3 separate regions of the Homo sapiens genome follow, and all the other regions are linked to region 2. The links are contacts of gene promoters, found by promoter capture Hi-C in blood cells and fetal thymus (Javierre and others, 2016). All regions are on one chromosome and are shown on one strand. The core of a region is centred on a gene start or on the middle of the fragment in contact, and the rest is flanking DNA. Distances in the headings are between cores, read along the strand shown. Region 1 holds the start of H4C12 (H4 clustered histone 12). Region 2 has its middle 2.1 kb from the start of TRA-CGC1-1. Region 3 holds the start of H3C10 (H3 clustered histone 10).

Region 1 (3,646 bases), core at 760-3,259, 1.3 Mb before region 2:
CCCTTCGCATGTATGGGAAAGAAGACGAAGTTAGAGGGGCTTTGATTCTGAAGCTTATTTCTGAGGCCTTTCAATGTTCAAAAGCGCTCAGCATGCCCAAGAACCACATTTTGGGGAATCATTCTGCACCCCAACAGTACCGTCACTATCCTATTCTAACTTTGTAGATGAGCAAAGATTTAAAAAGAATAAACAAGTCACCTCGTGTCTGATCGGTAACAAGTCAGCTCGAGTCTGAAAGGTAAACATTTAATCTAAAACCAAAGTTTTCTATTTCCAGAGTTTCAACTCTTAACTACTTTCTAAACAAAGAATTGAATACTAAGAGATTATATTAGAATAGTTATAGGAGTTTTATAATTTTCATTGATGTTAAAATAATTTCAGAGTGGCCGAGCGCAGTGGCTCAAGCCTGTAATCCCAGCACATTGGGAGGCCGAGGCATATGGATCACGAGGTCGGGAGTTGGAGACTAGCCTGGCCAACATGGTGAAACCCCGTCTCTACTAAAGATACAAAAAAATTAGCCGGGCGTGGTGGTGAGTGCCTGTAATCCCAGCTACTCAGGGGAGGCTGAGGTGGGAGAATCGCTTGAACCCGGGAGGTGGAGGTTGCAGTGAGCCAAGATTGGGCCATTGCACTCCAGCCTGAGCGAAAGGGCGAGACTCCGTCTCCACAAAAAAAAAAAAAAAAAAAAAAATTCAGAGTATAACCCTGTATTTATTAATAAGAAAGAAAATCAAATATACGGAATCAAAGTTGCTCCATAATGGTTGATAACAAATCTTTAGTTGGGTCATATAAAAGTGTCTTTTTAAAAACCTACAAGCGTCCAAGCGAAGCGGCTCACGCCTGTAATCCCAGCACTTTGGGAGGCTGAGGCGGGCGGATCACGATGTCAAGAGATCAAGAGCATCCTGTCCAACATGGTGAAACTTGTTCTTTACTAAAAATACAAAAAATTAGCTGGGCGTGGTGGCGCATGCCTGTAGTCCGCGCTAATCCGGAGGTTGAGGCATGAGAATCGCTTGAACCCGGGAGGTGGAGGTTGCAGTGAGCCGAGATTGCACCACTGCCCTCCGGCCTGACGACAGAGCGAGACTCCTTCCAAAAAAAAAAAAAAACCCCACACACAAAACCTACAAACACCAATTTTCTAGTTATAAGAGCTTGTTTTAAGGATTTTAATTCTATTCCAATTAAGTCCTAAAGCTAATGCAATTATCAAAATCTCGAAGAGATTTTATTCAAACTTCACAAAAGGTCTCTAAAGTTGTCCAGAAACCTTGGTGAAACAGATTAGGAAATTTGGAAAGGAAATAATGCGGAGACCCGTAGTACCAAATCATGAGACCTCTAATACAATTTTAAATATTAATGTAATAAAATTTAAATTTTGGTGTAATAAAATCATAAATTTCAATATTGGTCCCAAGTATAGAGAAAAAGTACATTTATGTTGAATGTGGAAAACATTATTTTTAAAATACAGCCGATTAAAAAATTGCTGGGGAACTGATTATAACTATTGATAATTCCTAAGAAACATAGACACCAAAACATCACTTTTATCTCTTTAATAGAAATTGGTTAAATTATAATCAATATAAGGAGGTTACAAAACTCCATATACAACACTGTATACATTTTCTTGGAAAAATATGTGCAACTGCTCTGCAAAATACATGATTAACTAGCCTGTGTGATGGGATAACATTGTAGTTTCTTAATTTCTTGTCCTTTCTTGTATTTCCCACAGTATTGATGTATATCTTCTGCGTTCAAAAGCAATTTTTTAAAGCCTCATAACGTGGTAACAAAATACTATGCACGTTACAAAATTCAGAACACGGAAACAAGAAGCTCGCTTTTTTTTTCCCCCTATTTCGGTTTGGCCCTTTAGATTTCCCCTCCCCCACCGGGGCGGGACTTCCCGCCGACTTCTTTCAGGTTCTCAGTTCGGTCCGCCAACTGTCGTATAAAGGCGCTGCCTCAGGCCAGAGTCCTCACAAAGCGTTGGGTGAGACTCCTCTTGCTCGTCATGTCTGGCCGCGGCAAAGGCGGGAAGGGTCTTGGCAAAGGCGGCGCTAAGCGCCACCGTAAAGTACTGCGCGACAATATCCAGGGCATCACCAAGCCGGCCATCCGGCGCCTTGCTCGCCGCGGCGGCGTGAAGCGCATCTCCGGCCTCATCTACGAGGAGACTCGCGGGGTGCTGAAGGTGTTCCTGGAGAACGTGATCCGGGACGCCGTGACCTATACAGAGCACGCCAAGCGCAAGACGGTCACCGCCATGGATGTGGTCTACGCGCTCAAGCGCCAGGGCCGCACCCTCTACGGTTTCGGTGGTTGAGCGTCCCTTTCTATCAACAAAAGGCCCTTTTTAGGGCCCCCACTTTCTCAGCTGAGGAGCCGTGATGCTTGTTTGCCCAGTTTCTCTTTACCATTTGTTCGCGCCTGCTGAGTTTGTGCTGCTATCGGAGCATGCGTCTCTAGTCGCTGTAAGTAGGCATCAGTCACTAATCGCTCTCCAGTAAATAAAATACCCAACACAACTTGTTTCAGGTGCTCCAGAGCTTACTGACATGGGCCGTCGCGCAGACTGTAGTGCAGTGTCATCATGGCTCACTGTAGCCTCCCGATTAGCCGGAACCTCGCGCCCACCACCACGCAAGGCTAATTATTTTTCCAAAGACCGGGTCTCCGTGTGTTTCCCAGGCTAGTTTCGATATCCTGGCCTCAATCCCCTCGCCTATGCCTAATGTTGGTATTACAGTAGTGAGCCACCACGCCTGGCCACGATACTGTTGAGGTTTTAGGGTTAGTTACATTTAAGGGGCAATTTTCGCAGTGTAGTGGGGAGGAAAGTCAAGCAGTTATAGGTTTCTGGCGCTGTGAATCCAACTGCTGAACATAGCAAGAACTTATTATGCAACAACCTTTAATCAGTGGACCGTAAATAAGTTTAGTTTATCGGTTTTGGCCCAATTCTTGAGAAAGGTGAGAATTTGAATCCTTGAGTAGAAATACGTAGCTTATCAGTACAACAAAGTGATCACAACAAAGACTAACTTATCCTTTGTTACTTAACGTGGGCAGAGCTTTACCGCTGAGAATTCCTCAGCCTTTGAGTGTTCTCTTATTTACAACTGAAGTTGATAAGATGGTATTAAAAGTGAGATTCCTAGTAAGTAAACTTAAAGGCCTGAAGGACCAGTGATTAATGGGAAGTGCTAATAAGTCATATTTGAGGTTATCCAACCCGAGATTCTGATTTAATTGGTTTAAGGATACTATCACCTTGTGGGTTAGATTTGAAAAATAATAATTGCTTTAAGGAAGGAACCTGTTGGTATTTAAACAAAAAACTTTCCTTCCTGATTCTTACATGCCGTCACTTAGACAAATCTCTGGTCTACATGGCTGGATCTCTTTCTGCTAGTTAAATTCTGTGCTACCCTGTGAAAAAGAACTGAGATTAATAAAACGGTAGTGAGAACACAGGGAAAGATAAAAATCATAGCAAGCCCATCCAGTCATGCTGTAGTCATCCTCACAAGGATAGGGAAGGATCTTGTCCTTCATTTATCACCCAAAGTGTGAGTACAAACTTTAAAAACATATGATACTATAGGAATAATGAAGA
Region 2 (3,515 bases), core at 508-3,007:
CAACTACCTGGAAATCTGACAAGAAAAAGGAGAGTGAGGACGCTTCTTCACAAACTTCTTTAATTTATTTTTCCTTTTTTAAGGAAAACCAAGGCAGGTGAAACCAAGAACTGCTAAATCAGTTTTCTCTATCTTTCGTCTCACAACAGCTTCCCTAAGTCCGTCGCCGAAAAGGTGATTCAATTACTCCCCTTTATGTGCACCAGCGTCAGATCAGGTTACTTTTGAAAATGTTTTGTTTGGGCCCAAGTTTAGAGAGAGGATTTGAGATATTTATCTGGGAAGCCTAGGAACTGAAGGCGAGCATTCTGTTAGTCCTTGACTGGACTGGATTATATGAATACATATATATGCGTGTAGAAAGATAGGTAGATGGGTAGGTGGGTAGATAGATAGATAGATGATAGATAGATAGATAGATAGATAGATAGATAGATAGATAGAATTTTGGGGGGATGTTAGTATGGATTTGTAATATGGTTAGACCTCGGTCTTAAAACGGACCCTCGTTATGGCTGAGCTTCTGTGCTGTTATTAGCAAGAATTTCTAAATTACCAGGTCCTTATTAAAATCGCAGCTGAACCTTCTAAAATCACCTTCTAGGTCAGATACATAGATTAATAAACCAGGGTTGATGCAGTTTGGACATTTTGTATGAAGCTTGGTAGCTCAGTCAGTATGGCCATGGACTTTTAATCTGAGGAACCAGGTTTCAAGTCCCTGTTCAGGTGTCGCTGTATTTCTCCTTTTTTATTTCCATTTCTTCATTTTTAACCCAATACGTACAGTATTCTTTCCTTATCAGCAGGAGATATGTTCCAAGACACACAGTGAATGCCTGAAACCTCGGATAGTACCATAGTATACTATGTTTTTTCGATCTGATAACCAGGATGAATACTAAGTGACTAAGATGTGGGGAGCGCATACCGCGTGGATAGTCTGGACAAAGGGATGATCCTCGGGCGGGTGGGAGATTTCATGACGCTACTGAGAAAGGGGAGTTATTTGAAACTTATGAATTTTTTATTTCTGGAATTTTCATTTAATATTTTTGGACCACGGTTGAAGGGGGTAACTGAGACAGCGGAAGGGAAACTATGGACAAGGCGGGAGAGGTTACTGCAGTTAGAGAGAGGAAGGTTAAGGTCAAGTCACGGGCTGATATCCCCGAATAAATGAAGGACTCTTGAGCTGACCATAGGTCTCATAACCTAGGAGCTGTTTAGAAAATAGATGGGCCTTTTGGAAAGGGAGCCACAGCGCACAAAGCTTTTCATCTGCAATAGGAGTAAAAGTTGCAATAACAATGGCTACAAGTTGTTAAAGGTTAAACTCTTTCTTGAAAAGCAACAAAAATGCACAGGCTCCCTCTTTTCTCTATTAGCGTGCTCCTTTCTGATCCCCTGCTTTCCTGATCCATGGGGTTGCCCAGGTAAACAGACGTGGTTCTTCACCCAGAACTTGGGCCTAGTGGCAGTAGCTTTCATTTTTTTGGTGGTGACCTACAATTTAGTTTAGTTTACATCGTAATTCAGTCATACATATGTAACAGAAACAAAAGTTGCATGAACTATTCCTTACTCTTAACACACACACTGCATTCTGATTATTTCTGATTCTAGTCTATTCTAACTGAAATTTAACATATCTTTCACTTACTAATACAGGTAACAAACCACAATTGAAAGAGAAGTAACTACGACTCTGTCATCAAGAAAAATCACATATTTTTGGCCGGGGGTGGTGGCTCATGCCTGTAATTCCAGCACTTTGGGAGGCCGAGGCGGGCGGATCACCAGGTCAGGAGATCAAGACCATCCTGGCTAATACGGTGAAACCCCGTCTCTACTAAAAATACAAAAACAAAATTGGTGGCGGGCACCTGTAGTCCCAGCTACTCGGGAGGCTGAGGCAGGAGAATGGCGTGAACCCGGGAGGCGGAGCTTGCAGTGAGCAGAGACCACGCCACTGCACTCCAGCCTAGGCGACAGAGGGAGACTCTGTCTAAAAAAAAAGAAAAGAAAAATCACATATTTTTGTATCACAATACAGTTGTTACAAATACCCAAGACAACTGTTTGAAAATTACAGCAGTCATAAGACGGGTCTTGATGTTTAATATTTAATGCATTAATGAGAAGCACACATTACTCTATGAAATTATTTTAATCGTTTGAAAACTGTTTTGTAGTACAATTGGCTTTCTTTAAAATCCTGTGTATTTTTTAAAAGCTTTTAAAAATACAATTTTGAAAAGGGCTCCATGGGCTTCATGCTGGGGCCAGAGGGCTCCCTGGGAGCTAAAAGATGAAGAAGCCGCGGAAATTCGCCATCTGGGAGGAGACCACCGTCGGGTGCCCGCCATCCCCTTCCGCCGGAACTCCACTAAAGAGGACTAGGTGTTAGCGCTGGCGCGGGAGGCCGGAGCAAGGTCTTTAAAGGTCTAAGGTGAAATTCCGGGTGGGAGCTCAGTCAAGCCTCCCCTACCCAACTGGGAATCAGTGCGCCAACCGGAGCACGCCCCCCAGGCGACACCGAGAGGCGCGGAACTCCCAAGCCTAGAGGGCGTCGGAAGTGCATCCCAGAGCGGAGCAGCCAGAGGGGCGGGGCGTCGCGGCGCTGGGGCCGCGCCCTCGGGTATCCAGAGTACGGCTCTTCCAGGCCATGTTGATGACCCAGGGTGGAAGCCATTGGAGAGTTTTGAGAGAAGAAGGAGGTATTTTTTTTTTTTTTTTTTGAGACGGAGTTCTCACTCTATCTCCCAGGCTGGAGTGCAGTGGCACGATCACGGCTCACCGCAACCGAGGGAGGTACATTTTAGCGGGATTTCTGTGAGAGGCATTCGAACCAGAGCGACTCCATTTTGAGTGAGGGCTAGGAAAACGAGGCCGGGACTTTTGCTGGGCTGCATTCCCAGAAAGTCAGGCATTCCTAGCCTCTAGATGTTTATGGTTAAGGGAACAAATTAATAATGTTTACTAAACAGACCCAGACTTGGGAGTGTCTAGATGTCCCCATATCTGGAGAACAAAGGCATTCCAAATTTTGCTTTAAAGATAATAATATCGATTCTTACAAAATATAATAAGAAAATTAATCCTTTATCACAGACCCTTGTAGCAGAGCACATCTCCCCATACTTACAGGTATGTATCTAGGGTGGACACTTTCCTCCGCGTTTCAGGAACACCCTACTCTGTCTATGGAGTAGCTGTACTTTCACTACTTAACTTTCTTAATAAACCTGCTTTTACTTTGCACTGCGGACTCGCCCTGAATTCTTTCTTGCGGGAGAGCCAAGAACCCTCCCTTGGGGTCTGGATCGGGACCCTTTTTCTGTAACACAACAACTATTGAGAAAAGAAGGTAGTGGTGCAAGAACAGATACAGAAAAATAAGTTTCCCTCCCTCTTCTTTCCAACTCTTCCATGCTCAGTGCCTCAGATGTGAGGGTCAGAAATTTGGTTATTAAAAACTCTAGGCCGGGCGTGGTGGCTCACGCCTGTAATCC
Region 3 (3,593 bases), core at 349-2,848, 1.3 Mb before region 2:
ATGCTAGAGAGCTCACAGAAGAAGTTATAGAAATCTAGCATTCTGAATACAAGAATGGATGAGGTAAGGGCTTTCCTGGCCCACAAGAAGCTGATTTGAGCATATCTACCAAGCTGATGTATTTCTTTCATTTGAGATTTTCCATGTGGGTATGTCTCCTTACTATTATATACCCATGCATTCATTCATTTATCCAACAAATACTGATCAAAAGCTCCTACGTTACTGGAGATATGCGAGTAAACAAAAGTTCCTCCTCTCATGAGCCTGTATTTTAGAACACACAAGCAATACATCAGCAAACTCTGGTACAGCATATAGTGACAAATTCTAGGGTGAAAAAAATAGGTGGGGATTATACAGATTTTATTTAGTCATACAAAGCCTCATTGAGAAAGTAACATTTAAGCAAAGACTCAAGTATTTTATCCTGTGCTCAAAAAAACTACCACAGGCTTACCTACAAGGCAGTCTTATTTTGAATACTCCTGACAGTTCAGAGTTTTAGCCACTGTCAGCAGAAGTCAGAGAAAACACTTTCTCTCCCACACGTATTTTTACATGGGGCTTCAAAGGGAATGTTCTCTGGCGGGCTTTCTCCAGAAGACTTTTAAACCTCAAACCATCTGTCATTAACTACATTTAAGTGGTTTAAGCAGGCCCAAAATCCGGCTTGAAAAAATTCAAAGAAAACTTAACACTGCTTAGGAACGGGGGGCGGGGAGAGAACGTTTCACTTTAGCCAGCATGAGCTACATTAACCTGAATTTTTCCAACTTCAGTACAACCTTAGTTTTATTTCTGGCGTGTTGGCAAGAAATATACACACACCACAGTACAGGTTAGCAGAAAATTAGAAGCACCATCCGGTCAAAACCGGGCTGCGGAGATGGGAGAGCAATACACGAAGGAACTTTTGGCTACACTCAATGCTTACGGAAAAATGCCGGACATTATTAGATGTTAAGACTCCCAAAATTAGCATTCAAAAAGGGATAGGCTGAGTCTTACGAAACAGATTGTATAACGTCTGGAAATGGGCCCTATCTACTACAGGCAAAACAAGTACCAGGAAGAATTCCTGAGAGAAACAGATCTTTTCAGCGCGCATGTGGGTGGCTCTGAAAAGAGCCTTTGGGTATGTAATCAGTGAGTCCTTGAGACTCAAGCCCTCTCGCCGCGGATACGACGTGCGAGCTGGATGTCCTTGGGCATGATAGTCACCCGCTTGGCGTGGATGGCGCACAGGTTGGTGTCCTCAAAGAGCCCCACCAGGTAGGCCTCGCATGCCTCTTGCAGCGCCATCACCGCGGAGCTCTGGAAGCGCAAGTCGGTCTTGAAGTCCTGCGCGATCTCACGCACCAGACGCTGAAAAGGCAGCTTTCTGATCAGCAGCTCGGTGGACTTCTGGTAGCGGCGAATCTCGCGGAGAGCCACTGTACCAGGCCGATAGCGATGGGGCTTCTTGACACCGCCGGTGGCCGGAGCGCTCTTCCGAGCCGCCTTGGTGGCCAGCTGCTTGCGCGGAGCCTTGCCGCCGGTGGACTTGCGAGCAGTCTGCTTCGTACGCGCCATGCCTTCAGAGCTAGATTCACTTCAGGAGAAAGAGAAAGCTAGCCGCTTATTTATAGTGAGAGTCTGAAGCTGATTGGACAAAAGTATGCTGAAGGCCTACCCAACAGTAACCGGATTGGCGAAGGACTCAAATTTTTGTTGTTCACCTATTCCTCTGACAGACTTAGCAGTTCATGGTCTCCATATTTTATTTTCTATTTTCGCTATACAGTTGTTCACTATACTAGCGATTTCCAGTGGAAATGAGAGCAATATAAGTAATTTACACTTATCTAGGAGAACATTGTAACAAAACAAGGAAAAATTAATTTTTAATATTTTGCTTAATCCAATATAGCCAACATATTTCAATGTTATCGAAATTAAAATTGTTAGGTATTTTACACTTTTTGGCACTGACTTTTCCAAATGCAATGTGTATTTTATATAAAATTCATGCTATGGAATTTCCAATGATCACTATCCACAATTGGCTAGTGGCTGCAATACTGGACAGGACAGCCTTATACACCTGTCCCCTCAATTTTCTATCTTTTGACCACTTAAATTTAAAAAACTTCTATTTTTATAACCAAGAAAAGCTGGTTCGCATGTGAGAAATTCAAGGCCAAAAAATGTCAAAGAAACAACTTTATGTGAACTTTTCACTTTTAGATTAAAGTAATTCCATTGCAGCTTATTTTTCCAATACTCTAGAAATGTAATTCATTTTCTTTTAAGAATCTATTCCATTCGTACATCCAGATCTGATTCAGATTAAAAACATCAAGTCAGATATTTTAAAAGTGGAATTTACCATGCTGAAACAAATTAAGTCATCTCTGTACTAAGAAATCAATTTGTGTGGCTGGGGGTGGGAAAGCTCGGGAAATTTTAATTTCAATGAATTTTCAGAAAATGCTTCAAAGAGAACTACCTGGCACCATAAGTAACTGTTCTAATTAGTCTAATAATTATTCTCAACTCAATCATTAATGTTCAAATGCAATTAATTATACAGATTCGAGAGATATTTCTCAGAAATGAAGAATCCAAGTCGTTGATCTAGATTTGGATTGAACGTCGAATGCCCGGTTTGTTATTTACCAAGACCCAGAAAACATCTGGCCCCAAAGCAGACATGTTTGCTTCAACAGACTAAAAGTAAAACCCGACGGTGAACCATACAGAATTCAACATACTTGGATAATGCCAGCTTAGGAAAAACTAAATTTTCTTCCACTAAGCTTAAGATGAAGGCGTGTTTAATACTTTTAATGTTATCCAGGCTTTTTATAAAGCTAACGAGATTGTCACTACCTAACCAAGACACCGAAGACTGATCTACGTAACCTTTGGAGTGGTTTAGAAGTAGGCAAAGACGAGAAATTACATTAAACATAGTGCTCAGTTCTTCCACAAAATTGTAGGTGGCTCTGAAAAGAGCCTTTGGTTCCTTTGGGATTGAGTTGCTGCAAACTAATCCAGGCTTCTACTTGCCCTTCGCCTTGTGGTGGCTCTCGGTCTTCTTGGGCAGTAGCACGGCCTGGATGTTGGGCAGGACGCCACCCTGTGCGATGGTGACTTTGCCCAGAAGCTTGTTGAGCTCCTCATCGTTGCGGATGGCCAGCTGGAGGTGACGCGGGATGATGCGAGTCTTCTTGTTGTCGCGGGCCGCGTTGCCAGCCAGCTCCAGGATCTCGGCGGTCAGGTACTCCAGCACCGCCGCCAGGTACACCGGCGCTCCAGCACCGACCCGCTCCGCATAGTTGCCTTTGCGGAGCAGGCGATGCACTCGGCCTACGGGAAACTGAAGCCCGGCCCGAGAAGAGCGGGTCTTGGCCTTGGCGCGAGCTTTGCCTCCCTGCTTGCCACGCCCAGACATGGCAAAAGGCCTATTATCTATACGGTCAAGAAAGACTGAAGTGAAACTAGAAAAACGTACATTTTATAGCCTCTACTGGGCGCGAAAAGGAAGCTGTGCGATTGGCTTACGTTTTATTTTTATTTAGACCAATAGGACTCGATTATGCAGGATA

Evidence for each region. Contacts are between HindIII fragments. The CHiCAGO score rates a contact against its expected background, and 5 or more counts as called.
Region 1: a contact is called between the fragment with the promoter of H4C12 here and a fragment that was not itself captured in region 2, in 1 of 17 cell types (M0 macrophages). The highest score is 7.5, in M0 macrophages.
Region 3: a contact is called between the fragment with the promoter of H3C10 here and a fragment that was not itself captured in region 2, in 3 of 17 cell types (fetal thymus, total CD8 T cells and M0 macrophages). The highest score is 6.9, in fetal thymus.

Annotation. Positions count from the first base shown.
Region 1 is chr6:27,829,923-27,833,568 of GRCh38, reverse strand. It overlaps H4C12 (H4 clustered histone 12), which reads left to right and starts at 2,009. Exons shown (of 1, transcript NM_003541.3): 1 at 2,009-2,395. The coding sequence starts at 2,042. The coding sequence ends at 2,353. RefSeq lists enhancers at 1,700-2,525, 2,449-2,558. The HindIII fragment of the contact is 8,845 bases long and covers 56-3,646 here.
Region 2 is chr6:26,549,695-26,553,209 of GRCh38, reverse strand. No RefSeq gene overlaps it. Among named protein-coding and RNA genes, the nearest start is that of TRA-CGC1-1, 2.1 kb to the left of the region's middle. RefSeq lists a cis regulatory region at 1-24 and enhancers at 2,292-2,341, 2,326-2,860, 3,120-3,515. The HindIII fragment of the contact is 963 bases long and covers 1,276-2,238 here.
Region 3 is chr6:27,808,056-27,811,648 of GRCh38, reverse strand. H3C10 (H3 clustered histone 10) reads right to left here and starts at 1,598. Exons shown (of 1, transcript NM_003536.3): 1 at 1,113-1,598. The coding sequence starts at 1,575. The coding sequence ends at 1,165. It overlaps H2AC13 (H2A clustered histone 13), which reads right to left and starts at 3,476. Exons shown (of 1, transcript NM_003509.3): 1 at 2,982-3,476. The coding sequence starts at 3,439. The coding sequence ends at 3,047. RefSeq lists enhancers at 589-1,260, 1,355-1,644, 1,261-1,932, 2,616-3,214, 3,133-3,332. The HindIII fragment of the contact is 5,605 bases long and covers 1-2,803 here.